3 separate regions of the Homo sapiens genome follow, and all the other regions are linked to region 1. The links are contacts of gene promoters, found by promoter capture Hi-C in blood cells and fetal thymus (Javierre and others, 2016). All regions are on one chromosome and are shown on one strand. Each heading gives the region's core, a stretch centred on a gene start or on the middle of the fragment in contact. The rest is flanking DNA. Distances are from core to core; before and after follow the strand shown. Region 1 holds the start of ZNF483 (zinc finger protein 483). Region 2 holds the start of INIP (INTS3 and NABP interacting protein). Region 3 holds the start of SNX30 (sorting nexin family member 30).

Evidence for each region. The method cuts DNA at HindIII sites, captures the fragments that hold promoters and counts their contacts. A CHiCAGO score of 5 or more calls a contact.
Region 2: a contact is called between the fragment with the promoter of INIP here and the fragment with the promoter of ZNF483 in region 1, in 5 of 17 cell types (naive CD8 T cells, naive CD4 T cells, total CD4 T cells and 2 more). The highest score is 18.6, in naive CD8 T cells.
Region 3: a contact is called between the fragment with the promoter of SNX30 here and the fragment with the promoter of ZNF483 in region 1, in 6 of 17 cell types (activated CD4 T cells, naive CD8 T cells, non-activated CD4 T cells and 3 more). The highest score is 8.9, in activated CD4 T cells.

What each region holds. Positions count from the first base shown.
Region 1 is chr9:111,523,757-111,526,469 of GRCh38, reverse strand. ZNF483 (zinc finger protein 483) reads right to left here and starts at 1,291. Exons shown (of 6, transcript NM_133464.5): 1 at 1,208-1,291. RefSeq lists enhancers at 128-627, 739-938 and a silencer at 1,039-1,388. The HindIII fragment of the contact is 1,786 bases long and covers 1,263-2,713 here.
Region 2 is chr9:112,716,690-112,719,389 of GRCh38, reverse strand. It overlaps INIP (INTS3 and NABP interacting protein), which reads left to right and starts at 1,273. Exons shown (of 5, transcript NM_021218.3): 1 at 1,273-1,403. RefSeq lists a silencer at 1,062-1,221 and an enhancer at 1,592-1,691. The HindIII fragment of the contact is 2,113 bases long and covers 1-1,850 here.
Region 3 is chr9:112,749,413-112,752,112 of GRCh38, reverse strand. It overlaps SNX30 (sorting nexin family member 30), which reads right to left and starts at 1,353. Exons shown (of 9, transcript NM_001012994.2): 1 at 956-1,353. The coding sequence starts at 1,111. SNX30-DT (SNX30 divergent transcript) reads left to right here and starts at 1,548. Exons shown (of 1, transcript NR_186503.1): 1 at 1,548-2,700. RefSeq lists enhancers at 1-584, 585-1,506 and a silencer at 776-1,595. The HindIII fragment of the contact is 6,629 bases long and covers 1-2,700 here.

The DNA of each region.
Region 1 (2,713 bases), core at 42-2,541:
GCCAAAAAATTCCTTCTAACATGCAAAATATGATCTTATCACTCCCCGGCTTACAGTCCCTCACCAGCCACCGAACTGTCTCTCGATAAAGTTCACATGCAGGGACCATGGCATTGTGATCTAGAGACACTGTCTGATGACCTCACCTCTTGAGCTCTAGCTACCCGATTGACACTACAGCCATAAATTAGTATCTCCTCTCTCTCTACATACTCTCCTAGCCTTTGCACCAAGGCTATTCCCTCTCCTCGGAATGTTGCTTTCTTTCTCCTACCAAACTTTTATTCGTCTTTAAAGCCTGACTCCTTTCAACTGTCACTTCTGGTGTGATGCTCTGCTTGATCCCAAAGCACTCCTTTGCACACAGACTGCCCTGTGTTGCATTCATTCATTCATTCTATAAGTGACGGAGCAACTACAATGAGCTGGAACGAGACCAGGGGCCATGAGCTGCGGGGCCAGGCGTGGACAGGCCTGAAAGGGTCCTCACGCTCACAGAGGGTCCAGGAAATGACAATACAGCCGGAGCGGGACTACAATGCGACAAGTGAAGGATGTGACAGCCTCGCATTGCAACTACCATACCAATAACAACCCACTTCCGAGTACAGCGCCCGGCACACAGCAGCATGACGTCATTTATTCCTCTGCCAAATATTAGGCGCCCACCACGTACCTGGCGCCGTGCTGAGCACCTGGGGCTCCGCGATGACTAAGACACTCGGCTCCGTCTACAGGGAGTTTACATAGGAGGCCCGGTGAAAATGTGACGCAGCCAGAGGATCTCAACCAGAGGGAAGAAAAAAGGAGAGATTTCACCCCCCAGCGGTCCTCTGGCAATGTCTGGACACATTTTTGGTTAGCTCGACTAGGACGAGAGGTGGTACTGTTATCTAACGGGCAGAACCAGTGACGCTGTTAAACATCCTGCCACAACGGGAGAGCCTCCCCCTCACCGCCACACCACAAACAAAACAAGGCATTATCCCGCCCAAAATGTCAACAGTGCCCAAGTGGCGCAGGGAGGGATGGAGGGAAGCCAACAGCCCCATCCCGCAGCGGAGTGCGCACCTCCCACAGAAGCAGCAGCAGCGCAGCGCACAGCCCGTTGGTAGGCTGCTCCCGGCCCCCATCCCGCCCCAAGTGCGCCCTCGGAGCCGGCGACCCGGCCACGGCCCCGAAACTCGGGGCCCGGGACGACCAGTACCTGCATCAGCATCCGCAAACAGCACCAACGCCACCGCAAAGAGCTTCCAGAAGCTTGTCCCGCAGCGAGTGCGCGCGCAAGCCTGCGGGAACCACTGCGCCTGCGCAGAGGCGCTGAACCGGACTCCCCGAACGCGCTCGTGCAGCTTTCCGAAAGTCCGCGCTTTCCATAGGCTCCCACCTGCCTGTTGCGCATGGTCACTGGGAAGCGGCTAGTGGGCTCGGCTGCAGAATTATTGCTGCGCCAGAGGCTCAGAGGCCTAGAATCGTATGAGGTTTGCAGATCCAGGAGGCTCCATCTGTTTAGTAACCTCAGACCTTCCCTACCCGCTCCCATCACTTCCATTCCCTGAAATCTAAGGTGGAAAAATCCACCGCAGAAGCATATTACCGATGCATTTAATGCAAGCCATAATTAATGCCACAACTTGAGTTAAACACATATTAATCTTATGACTTCCACACCTGCCCCCATGGTCCAGTCCACCCTCATGGCTCACCTGGATTATTGCAATAGCTTCTTGATTATACCTTACTTCTCTTGGCTATTCTCCACAGCCAGACGGACGTTTTAAAAACGTCAAATTATGACCCTCCTTTGCTTAAAACCCTGCAATGGTTTCCCATTTCACTCAGAGTTAAAACCCAAGTCTTTATAGTGGCCTACAAGGCCTGATGGAATCTAGCCCCTGTAACCTCCCGCACCTCTTCCCCACTTTCCTGCTCCAATCTTGATAGACCCCTTCCTCTTCTTGTAACCTGCCAGGTACTTCCGGCTGACCTGCTCCTTCCCTAAGTGGCCATACGGCCCGCTCTCTCATCCCTTCAGGTCTTCTCAATGAAGCTCTCCCACCATTCCACTTAAATAGGAATCCCACCTTACTCTTGTTTCCTCTTCTAACATGCCCTATAGGTTTGTTAATTTTTTTTTTTACTACTTGTCCGCCTTCTCCAGTAGAATACTAATTTCAGAAGAGTAAGTATTTTTATTTCATTTGTTCTAGGTTGTGTGTTTAGGTCCTGGAACAGGACTTGGCCCATGGCAGGCACTCAATAGATATTTGTTGAGCTTATGAATGAGTATTTGCATGGATTATTGGGGGCATTGCAAAAAGGGCCAAAGAACTCCAGAAAAATTGTTTGGAGGGTTCTAATAACTGGATGATCCCTGAAGGGGTGGAGTTAGGAGAGAAAGACTAGATTCATTCTAGACTGAAGGAGCAAGGTGATTCAAGGCCCTGAGACTTCAAAAGGGCAGAGCAAGCTCAACTAAATGAACCACTCCTCTCAAAAGGAGTGGGCTTATCACAGGCAGCAAGTCAAGCTGAAGAGACAGGGCTGAGAATGGCCGGGCGCGGTGGCTCATGCTTGTAATCCCAGCACTTTGGGAGGCTGAGGCGGGTGGATCACCTGAGGTCGGGAGTTTGAGACCAGCCTGACCCACGCGGAGAAACCCTGTCTCTACTAAAAATACAAAAAATTAGCCAGGTGTGGTGGCACATGCCTA
Region 2 (2,700 bases), core at 24-2,523, 1.2 Mb before region 1:
GAGCAGAGGCAATGTGTGAGATTTAAGAACTCAGGCCTTAGCATCTGGCAGATCTTTAAATTTGAATCTTAGCTCGCTACTTGACATAGAGCAAGAAACATGAGTCTCAAATATAAATCAGGGAACAGCAGGACCAGAGCTGATGCACAGGAAGCACCTCGCATTGTAGAAGGCACTCAATAGCTGCTTGGTATAGAGTAAATACATGCTTGGTTTTCAGTAAATAAATACTTGATATTGAAACGATTATTTCAGTCATTGATCCATGCACAAGAAAATTGTGCATCATAAACATTTTACTCTTGAGCAAACATCAATTATTAAAAACATATGTTCAAATTCATTATCCATTCTATTTAATTAAATGCTTGAGGCGCTTGGGGAGCTTACATTTGTGATTTAAGTCTGTGCGTTTTTCAAATGTATCTTTCGGAAGAGATTAAGACACTGCAATTTTAAGCAGGGCAGGTGGCTCACGCCTGTAATCCCAGCACTTTGGGAGGCTGAGGTGGGCAGATCCCTTGAGGCCAGGAGTTCAAGACCAGCCTGGGCAACAAAGCGAGACACTGTCACCATAAAAAATATTTTTTTAAATTAAAAAGAGTGCAATTTGAACACATGTCAATATACGATTACCTTTTAATTCAAATGTGTAGCTATCTACTGTGCTGGAATCAGGTGGGCAGCAGGTGATCCCACTAGTGGCAACTTGGTGTTCTGCGATGTGGCACATCCACTTCTTAAATGCAGATTATTGCACTGTAATAAAAATCCTCCATATTCAGTGCTTTCATTGTGTATAATTATGTAAACTGTAGACAAAAAATATTCCTGAATTTGTGTGTGTGTGTGTGTGTGTGTGTGTGTGTGTGCGGATGCGCAATCCGAGATGGTTGTTAAAGCTCGAAAGCGAGTTTAGCTTCTAGAGTCGCCCCTCCTCCGAGGCCCAGCCGAGGTGGACTCGCACCGTCGCAAGACCGGCCAGGCGGTGGCAATGAATAAAAAGCCAGTCTTGGTGCTAGGGACCCAGGTGTTCTCCGTCCCGCCCCTGCCTGGCAGCCCCGCCCCTCCCCCGCCCCGGGCCACGCCCCACCCTGGCCCAGCCCCCAAAAGTACCGTTTGCATCTCCCGTGAGCCTCTTCGACTGTCACTCTTTGGAAAAAAAAGTGACGTCTGCACTGAGGTGGCCGCTAAAGTGCGAATCACGACGGGCGGTGGCCGTTGGGTCCCGGCGGGAGGCGGGGTTTCCGCTCCCTGGGGCGCACGTCAGTCAGGAGGCGGAAGCGCAGCGGGGGCGGGAAGGTTGTAGTGCCGCGAGTTGAGCTCCTCTTGCCTAAGTGGTCGCGCCCCCTTTAAGAGCAGCGATTGTAAGGAGAGGCGGTCCCGGTGTCCTCGGGTCCCAGGTAAGTACGACAGTCTGGAGGCACCGGGCAATAGAAAAGTGTGGCTCCGGTGCTAACCTGTCGCCGCCGTCTTTGTTGCTACAGGCAGCGACCTCCCTTCCGACCTTGCCACCTAACATTTCTGGCTCCTACTTGCTTCCTTCGTCTCGTTCACAGCCCGGGCCCAGCCGGCTCTGCACATCCGTAGGCAGGGACCTTTCTGGCACGCCAGTCTACCCTGTCACAAGATGGCCCTGTTGTCCTCCAGTCCTAACCCCGCATTGCTCGCTCTGTGTTTCAGCCGCTGGAGACACCTAACGATTCATTTACTAAAAACCGGTGTCTGTTTTCTATCCCTTGTGTCTTTCCCGGGCTCCCTAGACTAAGGCATCACTCTTTGCTGCCAATGAAATCAATTCTTTGCCTCCGGCACTGTGCCCACCTTTTAAAGAGCGGGTTTGTTAAGCTTTTTTTTTTTTTAATTAATAGTATGGTTGCTTGAATAAGACTTTATTTTCCCTTCTGAAAGCAGGATTAGGGTCTTGCTCATCTTGGATCTCCCCAGGATTTAGTACGAAAGCACGAAGTTTGGAAACCAGCAGCCCAAATAATTCCTACTAGCTCTATGACCCTGGGTACGGTTTCCTCATCTATAAAATGGTGATAAATAAATAAAGGAACTAATTTCGAGCATGTTACACAGTGTATGGTGCAGAGCAGATACAGTACTCCTTTACCTTTTTTAGCTTTCAGTGTACACAGTAGTTTTTGGGTATGTGTTTTAGACGAATGCAGAGACACCATAGATGAATGATTTTTCTTCCTAGCACCATGATTATATTGACTCTATCAATTGGTTGATATATTTGGTAAATACAACCTAATGACGTTTATTAAAGACAGTAATGCTAAATGGTATGAACATCTGCAAGAATAAACAATGCCGTATTTAATTAAATGCTTGAGGCACTAGCAGAGTTTACATTTGTTTCAGTCTGTGTACATTTCAAATGTATCTTTCTTTCTTTTCTTTTTTTTTTTTTTTGAGACCGAGTCTCGCTGTCTCGCTCTGTGGCCCAAACTGGAGTGCAGTGGCGCGATCTCGGCTCACTGCAACCTCCGCCACCCGGGTTCAAGTGATTCTCCCGTCTCGCCCTCCCGAGTAGCTGGGACTGCAGGCGCTTGCCACCACACCCGGCTGATTTTTTTTTTTAATTTTATTTTTAGTAGAGACTGGGTTTCACCATGTTAGCCAGGATGGTCTCGATCTGCTGACCTCGTGATCCGCCCGCCTCGGCCTCCCAAAGTGCTGGGATTA
Region 3 (2,700 bases), core at 104-2,603, 1.2 Mb before region 1:
TCCCATTAATATTGGGACAAGGGGGAATTCATTTAGTATTTTACTAGGGAGAGAAAATCTTGATCACAAGACCTGAGAACAATTCTAATTTCTGCAGTTAGTGACTAAGTGACGGCAGGAGCGGGGATACAATCACTGCTCAAGTCTCCTTCACAGCTGAAATGGCCATGGGGGTAGGGAGGAGGTCGTCCCTTACCCCTGCCTGGACTCTGCTGTCTCTCCAAGCAGCAGGAGGGTTGTGCTGCTCTAAGAAAATCTGGAGCCTCCCTCCGTACAAAGAAGGTCAAAGGGCGAGCTTTCTTTCCATCAACCACAAAACCAGCCTCTGCCAAACCTAAACAGAGTGGTAGGCCGTCGGAGGTGAATGGAGCCCCAGACAGAAAACCACAACGAGGCTCTCCTCCCGCCGCCGGCTGGGGTCTGAGTCAGGTGACTCCTCAGGACAAACAGCAAACCTAAACAAAGATCACTCCCCACATGACTGACTAGGGGGAAGAAGACTCTCGCTGTAAGCCCAGGGCTGCCCGGTCCCAGCACGGAAAGCCAGGAACTCCTGCTTTCTGTGCAGTCTCGGAAACTGGAGGAGCTACAAGTTATGCAGCAGCTCAGCCTGCAGGGATGCACCTGGAGGAACTCGGAACCCCATCCGAGGACACAGGCGCCCTGCCCTGAACACACGCCTCCCGCTCCAACACGCAGGCTGGACCCCTCCCCACCAGCTGTCACCGGTGCTTGCGACCAGTCACAGGCAGCGAAGCCTGTCCCTCTGCGGCTGCGACCCCGCGGAGGCGGCAGAGGAGACGCTTCGCCGAGGGCTCCGGGGCCAGGACACGCCCGTCCCCCGGGAAGGGGCGGCAGGGTGGGCGCGGCCCCAGGCCCACGAAGGCTCCGGATCCATCATCCCCCCCACGGGGAGCGAAATAAGCCTCCCACTCCCCGGCCCCAGGCGCCCCACCTTGTCACCGAAGCTGCGGGCCATCAGCAGGTCCGGGCTGGGCGTGCTGTCACCACCCACGGCCTCCTCGCTGCTGGAGCCGGCCAGCGGGTGCGGCATGTCGCGCAGGGAGTGGGGCCCCGTGGACGGCAGGGCCTTGGGGGGCCCGCCCGCCATGGCGCGCACCGCTCGGGACGCGCCGCCGCCGCTTCCTCCTGCTGCCCGCCGCGGCGAGCTCCCCGAGCACCCCGGGCCGAGCCCCGCTCGGCCGCCGCTTAACCCGAGGCCTTGCACCGGCCGTGCTGGGGGCCGCCGCCACCCGCCGGCTGGTCTCTGCCGGCGCTCAGACGCTCCGCTCCGCGCCGCGCGCCCCCGCTCCGCGCCCGAGCCCGCCGCGGGTCCGCTGGCAGCACGGCCGCGGCGCCCAGCCCACACAGCCACACCGCCCACCCGCTCCGGCCCCGCCCCCGAGGCGCCGCGGCCGCCCGGGAGGGGGCGGGGAGGGCGGGGAAGGGGCACGTGGGGAAGGAAGGACGGAGGGAGGGAGGGAGGAGGCGCGGCCCCGCCCCCGCCCGGCAGGAAGTGCGCCCTGGGCCTCTGCGGCTGTCCTCCCAGTGTCCAACGTTGCCTCGCGGAGGCCGCCGTGCGGAGCAAATGTCTAACGGAAATCAGAGGTGGAAAAGAGGTTGGAGGAGCCTGTTCCGTTCCACCCGCGTTTACTGATGCGCCCACCAGCAGCCACGCTTGGGGCTGGGGGCTTTGAGGACACGCACGTGAGTCAGGGTCTTCTGGCCTCTAAGGCACGCGCAGGAAGAACCCTAGATAGACGGAATTACGACCCATATCGGAAGAATAGCATAAAGGGCGACAAGGCTCAAATGAGCTAGAGGACATCGGGTGGGGAACCTGGAAGGGACTTCAAAGAGGCGGTGTGGGGAGTCTTCAGGCTCACTCTGAGGTCCCCATTGTGGCTTGCTTCTGCAGCTGAGCTGGATTTGTGTAAAGTCAAACCTCAGAACAGCGAGCATGAGTAGAGAGTCTCAAATGATATGCGACTCTTCAACTCACACTTTGGCCGAAGAGACTTTTGAAAGAACCATGAGGTTCAAGTTATTCTTCATGCATTTGTGCTTCCTTTCCAGGCCTTGGGCTGAGCTGATTCTCAGCTTTATTTGCTGGCGTGGTGCAAATAGTCAAGGTGTTACTTCCAGCCCTTTGGGGTGTAGGTTCACCTCCTTTTTCCACCTTACCTGTCCCTAGATCTTCTGTTTCCAAGGCCAAGTCTTTAAAGGGTTTTCAGTCCCTCTAGCAAAGTAATGGGTAGGGAGGCTCATCGTGAGGGACCACATTTTCCCTACCCATTCCAAACTCAAAGGTTTGCCTAGCCTTACCTGCTAAAAGGTGATGACAGATGTTGACTCTGGGATTCACTAAGGCCTCTACCACAGTTTTCTCTAGAAACAAATAGAAGAGAATGCAGAGGGTTGAAATCTACCCAAAATATCAGTCAGAGACTCTGAGCTTCAAAGACCTTCCCCTATTTCCCCCAATGTAATTTATATAGGGTTGGACCCTTAGTCCTCAAGCTATCATCTTTATCTCCTCCACATAAGCCTGCCTTGGCTGGGAAAAGTAGCATTCAAAGGGCACTGGGAACAATTTTAAATGCTGCATCTAAGGAATGCCAAGTTCTGGTCCTCTTGGAGTTGGATTAAAATTGTTAACACTTTCACATTCAAGGGCTGCTTACAACTACTACAGACCCT